Linked DNA regions of Homo sapiens: regions 1 and 3 are each linked to region 2. The links are contacts of gene promoters, found by promoter capture Hi-C in blood cells and fetal thymus (Javierre and others, 2016). All regions are on one chromosome and are shown on one strand. Each heading gives the region's core, a stretch centred on a gene start or on the middle of the fragment in contact. The rest is flanking DNA. Distances are from core to core; before and after follow the strand shown. Region 1 overlaps NFYA (nuclear transcription factor Y subunit alpha). Region 2 holds the start of TREML2 (triggering receptor expressed on myeloid cells like 2). Region 3 has its middle 11 kb from the start of TREM1.

The links. Contacts are between HindIII fragments. The CHiCAGO score rates a contact against its expected background, and 5 or more counts as called.
Region 1: a contact is called between a fragment that was not itself captured here and the fragment with the promoter of TREML2 in region 2, in 1 of 17 cell types (neutrophils). The highest score is 9.8, in neutrophils.
Region 3: a contact is called between a fragment that was not itself captured here and the fragment with the promoter of TREML2 in region 2, in 1 of 17 cell types (neutrophils). The highest score is 6.2, in neutrophils.

The regions. Positions count from the first base shown.
Region 1 is chr6:41,079,455-41,082,481 of GRCh38, reverse strand. NFYA (nuclear transcription factor Y subunit alpha) reads right to left here. Exons shown (of 10, transcript NM_002505.5): 3 at 1,585-1,671. It also overlaps a transcript of OARD1 not described here. Among named protein-coding and RNA genes, the nearest start is that of NFYA, 8.0 kb to the right of the region's middle. The HindIII fragment of the contact is 4,870 bases long and covers 1-3,027 here.
Region 2 is chr6:41,199,899-41,203,080 of GRCh38, reverse strand. It overlaps TREML2 (triggering receptor expressed on myeloid cells like 2), which reads left to right and starts at 1,932. Exons shown (of 5, transcript NM_024807.4): 1 at 1,932-2,127. The coding sequence starts at 2,073. RefSeq lists an enhancer at 1,644-1,713. The HindIII fragment of the contact is 14,567 bases long and covers 348-3,182 here.
Region 3 is chr6:41,296,196-41,299,116 of GRCh38, reverse strand. No RefSeq gene overlaps it. Among named protein-coding and RNA genes, the nearest start is that of TREM1, 11 kb to the right of the region's middle. The HindIII fragment of the contact is 1,482 bases long and covers 894-2,375 here.

The DNA.
Region 1 (3,027 bases), core at 120-2,619, 120 kb after region 2:
TCCAAAGAGCTCACTGTATTTACAACAGAAAAATGTTACAAAGACACATGCATCAAACAAGAAGCCATACAGTTAAGAGCATGTTACATTCCTATTCCACAAGGGGTTAATGACAATCCAAAATACTGTTTTATATATGAGTAAGATGAAGCAAGCATGAAAAACATTAACAAGCTGTTGGACTGTGAGATTTGAACACAATTTTGGAATGCCTACAAGCTCAGTTTCTTTCGGCTTAATTTATGTTCAAAGTTGGCTGTACATCATTACCAAACACTATTGGTGGCAGGGGTAGGGGTGGGATTGAAAGGATAAAGTGATGACAATAAGAGGTAGTTATCTGCTGGATGCTTAGCAGCACTAGCAATAAAGTGAGATGCCAGTTCTACATTCTAGATTCTACTTTGAATCATTTCTAATTCAATGGAGGGAAAAAGTAGGGTACCCAAATCTTGCCAATTTCTCAAAAATAGAGTTATTTTAATAAAAGTAACCTACATACACAGAGTAGACTAGTGCTGCTACTCCTGTGTTTTATAGGAACTGGCCAAATTAGAACCCAATTTAGGATACTTAGCCATACACGATGCTAAAGAACTGTATTGATTAACCAAGAATTATCACAGTGGCTTTAACACCTAAGACTTACAGAAAGCACATCCTGCTTCTGCCTAACCAAGAGGTATCTGGGGTAATCTTTGCAGATCTAGTAATAAGACAGGTCACTATTCCCCCAGGAAAGGTAGTGGAAACAATAGCAGTTAACAAGAGATTAACAAGATTCAGTGCTTAGATAAACCTTGCCAAGTGCAATGATTATTTTTCAGTTGAGTTGCCCCTTGAATAAAAATAAAGCACAGCCTAGCCTAGTTTATGTGTGTCTGTATATGTATATATTTCCTTCTCCATTGTAACACAAATACACAAAATTTTTACCATGCAATTAATTGGATCAGAGTGTGAGCCCTGAATAAATTCTTTTTTTTTTTTTTGAGACGGAGTCTCGCTCTGTCACCCAGGCTGGAGTGCAGTGGCGCAATCTCTGCTCACTGCAAGCTCTGCCTCCTGGGTTCACGCCATTCTCCTGCTCCAGCCTCCCAAGTAGCTGGGACTACAGGTGCCCGCCACCATGCCCGGCTAATTTTTTTGTATTTTTAGTAGAGACAGGGTTTCACCATGTTTGCCAGGATGGTCTCGATCTCCTGACCTCGTGATCCGCCTGCCTCGGCCTCCCAAAGTGCTGGGATTACAGGCGTGAGCCACCGCGCCCGGCCGAGCCCTGAATAAATTCTAATGTCACTTATAAGAATTTCTTCCTGTCACTTATACCATTTCTTTTCCAGGCATTCTCAAAGAAACATGCTAGTCAAATCCAATTCTCAGAAAGTTGATACGGGGTCTCTATATGACTTGGCATGAAATATTAGGAAACTGGCATCTTATAAGCCTCAAAGACAAGTTAGCAGCATCAAAGACATGCAACTGACTTTGCCATTCCTACTGGAGATCCTAACACAAACAGCACCAGACATGAGGAGAGGAGAAGTTCATGCAGTGCTCACAGAGAATCAGAGAGGGTACCACTACCTGGAGGGTCTGGACTTGCTGGCCTGAGGCGGATGCCACCTGGGCCTCAGTCTGCAACTGCACAGCAGTGACACCACCCTGCTGCTGAGAACAGGAACAGGAAGAGCTTGAAATATGTCAGGAAGGAAATGTGTAGTTCAAGACACAGATCACCTTACCTCTTGGAGGAGAGAGACGGAAGCCTGAAGGACTTTCAAAATGTACAGACTCCCTATATTGAAGCTGTTTTGTTGAAGGTAGTAGGATTAAAGATATTAGCCCTTTGTCTCCAGAGTGGACCTCAAAAATTTGACTCAAAAACTCAAAACAGTTGTCATCATTAACACAAAGATTTGTAATGCAATCTTTCCCTCCAGAAACAGGAATCTGACACTTCTACTTACACAATTGTTTAATGCCCTTTTTATCTCCTCAGATGAGTTCACAAGAAAAAAATGATTAGGTTTTAATAGCCCTGAAACTACCATAAAAAATTCTGGGCTTAAATGCAATCACCAAGAAAGGAGGAGTAATTAATCACTATGAACCGAAATCATCTTCATGACGTCAATGCTCTCATGTCCCAAAACTAAGATTCTTTTTTTTTTAAACTTTATTTATGTACTTATTTTGAGATGGGGTCTTGCTGTTTTGCCCAGGCTGGTCTTGAATTCCTGGGCTTAAGCCAACCTTCCTGTCTCAGCCTCCAGAGTAGCTGGGATTACAGGCATGCAGCACCATGCCCAGCTTCAAAACTAAGATTATTTCTACCCAACTGGACTGCTTTAAGAGCCATGTTTTCAATGATTCAACCTTATTTTTACATCCACTAATGGCAAATTCTGAAAGAATAAAAACCCACCCTCCAGGGCACTGGTGTGAATGGAGGGCCCTTTGTGGAATCCCTTCCTCTAAAAAGGCAGTTGAAGGAAACTGCCAGAGCCACAGCAGCTGTATGGAAGGGAAAGCTATCAGGGGAGTTCGTCTTTGATCATTAGACGGGAAAAACTCATCATCAATACTACCTTTCCCTTCCCTACTACTTTTCTATATTAGCTAAATTCCATTTTGAAAACAAAGTATTTCCAAAATATCAATCTTGGCCTAAGGTCAAATAGAAACATAATACATTTTTTTCTTCTGGGGTGGGGAAAAAAGTGAAATTTTACTATAATAAACCCAAGCATAAAGCATCAGAAAATGTAACCTGTGTATAAATTCAAGAAAGCAATCTATTAATTAGGAATAAACCAGCAGCAGGGAATTCCTTTCTAGTATGTCTTATCCATAAGAATGGCTGTCTAAATATTATCCTAATGTTAAACCAGAGCTTTTCTGAATAAAAAATGTGGCAGACCAAATCAAAAAACAGAAGATTTATTGGAAGCTATGTTGGTTTGTCTGTTGTGGCCAAAGACTTACTAAATCACAAGTTAGCTCAAACAAGAAGAGAAAAAGACC
Region 2 (3,182 bases), core at 683-3,182:
ACTTACTGTGTGTGCTGGGGAGGGGAGATGGCCCCTGAACTCAGGGAGCTCAGGAAGTTCTGAGGACTGGGTGAGAAACATTGAAAAAGGAAGGGTGAATAAGGAAAACAAAACACGTCTGTGAGCTGAGAGGTCTCAAGTGACAATCGTGTCTCATTCCTACGCCCCCAGTGCCTACCTAGCCCCATGCATAGCAATGAGGTTGTGGGAATGAACAAATGAATGAATGAATTAATGAGTGAGTGAATGAGTTGAGAGACTACAAAAGCTTAGGGTCAGCCGAGATAGACTTCTTTGCTTGGAGCTTGGGGCTTCAAGGTCAATTTAAGATTGTGGCCATGCAAGCTTGAGGACTTTTTGCTCTGAGTCCTGTTAAAATTAATGAAAATGGAGACCAGGCCTGAAGAGTCCCTGAGCAAAAATTAAAAAAACAGTTAGGCCTCATAAGTGACCTCAACTTTGCTTGATTTGCAAATATCAGTGAAACTTAACACGAGCTATTTCTTGTAAATGTGTATATTAAGGAAAAATAGAACTTAAGCTCAACCAATCAAAAGAAACTTATATAATTAACTAGGGTCTTTCCAACAGGATAGGCCAAATAAGGGAACTATATAACTATAACTAATTAAATATTTTCTTCAGTTTACTTGTCCTGTAGGAGTCTTCCCCTTGCATTCCCCCAGTGGAGCTCCTCAACCTCTTCTGTTTGGAGCTGCCTGATTCATGAATTGTTGTTTGCTGAAATAATCTGTTTAAAATTTTATTGTGCCTCAGTTTACCTTTTGACAGTCCCATCTAAGGAGTAGAAACATGGCACTAGTGAGTAGGGGGAGCATACATAATCACGGGAGTCCAGCTGGGTCCCCACACACTGAAGGAGCAGATGACACAGGTACCGGACATCAAAAATTGATGCTTCTGATTCTAGGCCTTGGGGTAAGTGAAGGGTGTGGTCTTGGGCCTAGTGCTGGGTCATTTCCACTGGAGCTGGTGGCTGTACAGGCGAGATAGCATTGAGCAGGAGGAAGTGGAGGGCACTTGCCTGCGTGCTGACGTAGGCTGGAGGCAGGGGAGGAAGGGGGTCTTGAGATGAGGTGGGTGAGGGGAAGTACTGCGGAGGCTGTAGGAAGCCTGCACGAGGGACTAGGAGTCTAGAGGGAGCTGATGGTGAGTAGAGTCGACAGGAGGAGAGGCAGGGAGAGGGACAGAGAGAGGAGACGTATGGATAGGGAAAAGGAGAGGCTGCTGGGGTGTGTGTGAGACTGTGTGCATGGGCGTGTGTGTGTGTGTGTGAAAGTGAATAAAAGACAAAGTGAGACTGTGAGTGTGAGTGCATGTGCATGCACACCTGTGTGTGAGAGTACAGGAACCCCTCCCTCAACCCAAAATTTATGCCCTGAGTCTTAACAATTTGCATTTTTCCCGCTTGACAAAAGTAAGATTTCAAGTGAGCCTGTAAGAGGTTATTTGCAACAGTGAACACAAGTGACTGTTCTGAGCAGCCAGGAGCCTGGGAGAGAGAGAGAGGAAGGAACAGAAAGAATCTGCAATGAATGAATGAATGAGAGTTTATAAGAACTTCCCTGTGAATGTATATATGTAAGAAACTAGGGTCTGAGATGCTCCATCTCAGCCTAAGAGCCCGCACCCCTGGGTCTCTGAGCCCAGAAGATTCCAGGAAGGTCTATACCTGACGTTCCAGAAGCCTCACCCCAGCCCCCTTGCTGGATCCTAGGGACCAGTTTCTGGGGGAGGTTGGGGAGGGCGGGGAGCCCTCTGACTGTGAGTCCTCCCGGCTTGGGGCCCCAGACTGGGTGGAGCAGCCACACCTGCCTGAAGTTCCGAGGAAAAGGGCGGAAACAGCTGCCAGCACCGCCCTCATAATAGGCTCAATGAATCCCTGCGGTTGGCTGGGGGCAGTGGGTCCCACACTGCCTCACTTCCCTAAATGGGCAGCTTCACTTTTAGAACCCCGGGTCCTTCCCTGGCAGGCCCAGGTGGCACATCCTGTGTCGGGTGGGCCCTCACCTTGGATCTCCAGGCCTGACACTGCCCAGCTGGATGGAACCATGGCCCCAGCCTTCCTGCTGCTGCTGCTGCTGTGGCCACAGGGTTGCGTCTCAGGTGAGGGGAGAAGGGGCTGACTTGTGGAGGAGGGAGTGGGTACAGAGGCAGGAGCTCAGGGCCTTTTTCTTACCCTCCTTACCAGCAGTTTTCTTGTTTAGTGTTTTGTGGGTTGGGGAAGGAGGAGATTAGGGCTGACTTAGCTCTTTACCCTAATATCAGGCCCCAGGCGAAGCTAACCCAGGCCTCCCAAGCCAAGATAAAGCTCTGGACCCTCTCTGCATTGGCTCCTTTATCTGCTAGGCTTCCTCAGGCTTTAAAGCAGAGCCCTCAATTTCCTCACACAAATAGCTTTCTCTGCTTGGCCTCTGTCAGGAAGCCCTGCTTAGTTATGACAGCAATCATTGCATCATGTGTGTTTTGAACTGAATTTGAACATTTTTCTTGAAATGCTGATGCCACATCCTGTCCCTGCCTCTGTCCTGAAGGGACCAGTGTGTGAATGCCTTTCCCACCTCACAGATACCAATGCTCCTTGAGGAACCTCACCCATTCCTGCCCCTCTCGCTGCCATGGCAACCAAGTTACCACTTCCTGTTCAGTTCTGGGCATGGTGGGGGTTGGCAAAACTCACCACTGCCTGTGAGAGGGGTGGGAGGTGTAGGCACACATGAAGACATTGCCCTGGAGACCCATCCCAAGGTCACCCAACTCTGCACCTCCCAGAGGGTAGAGAAACAGCTTCCCACTGCCAGGGCAGAAAGGGGTCTCTCTTGTGCTAAGAAATCCTGGGCTCATCCACCAAATAATGAAGTTGGATCATTCTGTTTAGTTTGCAAGGGACAGAGGGATGCTTAGAGAGGGTGCTGCTTCACACAGAGCCTCAGCTCTAGTGGCTGCTGGCTGGGACTTGGGACGGATATCCTGGATTCTGGTGGGACAGATGTCCTGGATTCTGGGCCCTTGACTGTCACAGCTCTGGGTTCCATTGGGGGAACTGGGAGGCCCCAGCATGTGGGAAAAGGAAGCATGAGTTGAGCATGCACTGTGTGCAAAGCACTGACCTGGGGCAGAATTCTCACAGCAACCTGTGAGGGGTGTGGTGCTATTCTCAC
Region 3 (2,921 bases), core at 385-2,884, 96 kb before region 2:
TTAATTTCCATGCAAATGTATGGTTTTGAGCAATTTTCTTAGTATTGATTTCTATTTTTTTTGTGCTGTGGTCCAAGAGTGTGGTTGGTGTGATTTTGGTTTCTTTGAATTTGTTGAGGATTGTTTTTTGGTCGATTGTGTGGTTGACTTCAAATATGTGCCATGTACAGGTAGGAAGAATGTACACACTGTTGTTTTGGGGTGGAGAGTTCTGTCAATGTCTATTAGGTTCATTTGGTCAAGTGTCGAGTTCAGTTTCTTTGTAAGTCTCTAAGAATTTGCTTTTTGAATCTGAGTGCTCCTGTGCTGGATGCATATATATTTAGGATAGTTAGGTCTTCTTGTTGAATTGAACTTTTTACCATTATGTAATGTTCTTTGTCTTTTTTGATCTTTGTTGGCTTAAGTTCTGTTTTGTCTGAAATTAGATAGCAACCTCTGCTTTTTCTGTTTTCTGTTTGCTTGGTACCTTTTCTCCATCTTTTTACTTTGAGCTGATAGGTCTCATTGTGTGTGAGATAAGTCTCTTGAAGATAGCATACCATTGAGTGTTGCTTCTTTATCCAATTTGCCACTCTGTGACTTTTAATTGGGATATTTAGCCCTTTTACATTCAAAGTTAATATTGATATGTGTGGATTTGATCTTGTTATCACATTGTTAGCTGGTTATTATGCAGATTTGTTTGTGTGGCTGCTCAATAGTGTCAATGGTCTATGTACTTAAGTGCATTTTTGTAGTGGCCAATGTATTAGGTCATTCTTGCATTGCTATAAAGAAATACCTGAGACTGGATAATTTATAAAGAAAAGAGGTTTAATTGGCTAATGTTTCTGCAGGCTACACAGGAAGCATGGGGCTAACATCTGATTCTGGGGAGGTCTCAGGAAGCTTACAATCATGGCAGAAGGTAAAGGGGGTACAGGGATGTCACATGGTGAAAGCAGAAGCAAGAGAGAATGGTGGGGTGTTATGGGAAGTCGGGGACCCTGAACAGAGGGACCAGCTAGAGCCGAGGCAGAAGAACATAAAATGTGAAGATTTAATGGACATTTATCAGTTCCCAAAATTAATACTTTTATAATTTCTTATGCCTGTCTTTACTGCAATCTCTGAACATAAATTGTGAAGATTTCATGGACATTTATCACTTCCCTAATAATACTCTTATAATTTCTTATGCCTGTCTTTACTTTAATCTCTTAATCCTGTTATCTTTGTAAGCTGAGAATGTACGTCACCTCAGGACCACTATTGTACAAATTGATTGTAGAACATGTGTGTTTGAACAATATGAAATCAGTGCACCCTGAAAAAGAACAGAATAATGGTGATTTTCAGGGAACAAGGGAAGATAACCATAAGGTCTGACTGCCTGTGGGGTTGGGCAGAATAGAGCCATATTTTTCTTCTTGAAGGGAGCCTATAAACAGACATGCGAGTAGGGGAAATATCGCTGAATTCTTTTCCCAGCAAGGAATATTAATAATTGATACCCTGAGGAAGGAATGCATTCTTGGGGGGAGGTCTATAGATGGCCGCTGTGAGAGTGTCTGTCTTATGTGGTTAAGATAAGGACTGAAATACACCCTGGTCTCCTGCAGTACCCTCAGGCTTACTAGGATTGGGAAATTCCAGCCTGGTAAATTCTAGTCAGACTGGTTCTCTGCTCTCAAACCCTGTTTCCTGTTAAGATGTTTATCAAGACAATGCGTGCACAGCGGGACATAGACCCGCATCAGTAATTCTAATTTTGCCTTCGCCTTGTGATCTTTATAGCCCTTTGAACCATGTGATCCTTGTGACCTACTCCCTGTTCATATACCCCCTCCCCTTTTAAAATCCCTAATAAAAACTTGCTGGTTTTGTGGCTTGGGGTCATCATCATGGTCCTAACAATATGTGATGACACCCCTGGAGGCCCAGCTCTAAAATTTCTCTCTTTGCACTCTTTCTCTTTATTTCTCAGACTGGCCAACACTTAGGGAAAATAGAAATGAATCTACGTTGAAATATTGGGGGCTGGTTCCCCTGATACTGGGGGAGGTGCTACACACTTTTAAATGACCAGATCTTGTGTGAACTCAGAGTGAGAGCTCACTTGTCACCAAGTCATGGCCCAAGCCATTCATTTGGGATCCACCCACTTGATCCAAACACCTCCCTCCAGGCCCTACCACCAAGATTGGAGATTACATTTCAACATGACATTTGGGTGGGGACAAATATCCAGATTATATCAGCTGGTAATGGTCTTTCTTTAACAAATTTAATACTTCCTTCAGGACCTCTTGTAAGACAAGTCTAGTAGTAATGAATTGCCTTAGCAATTGTTTGTCTGACATGGATCTTATTTCTCCTTCACTTATGAAGCTTAGTTCGGCTGGATATGAAACTCTTGGTTGGCATCTCTTTTCTTTAAGAATGCTAAATGTATGCAGCATAATTCACAATTGCAATTATATGGAATCATCCTAACTGCCAACTAACTGATAAGTGGATACAAATATATGGTATCTATCTATCTATCTATCTATCTATCTATCTATCTATCCATCCACACACCACAGAATACTATGCATTCATGAAAAAGAATGAAATACTGTCTTTTGCAGTAACTTTGAAGGAACTAGAGTCTATTATCCTAAGTGAAGTAAAAACTTGAACAGAAAACCAAATACAGAATGTTCTCATTTGTAAGTGGGAGCTAAGCTATGGGTACACAAAGGCATACAGAATGGTATAATGAACGTTGTGGACTCAGAATGGAAAAGAGTGGAAAAGGGGTTCAGGATGAACAATTACCTACTGGTACAATACACACTATTTAGGTGATGAATACACTAAAAGCCCAGGCTTCACCGCTATACAATTCATCCACTGTACAATTCATTCATTCATCATGTAGCCAAAAACCACTT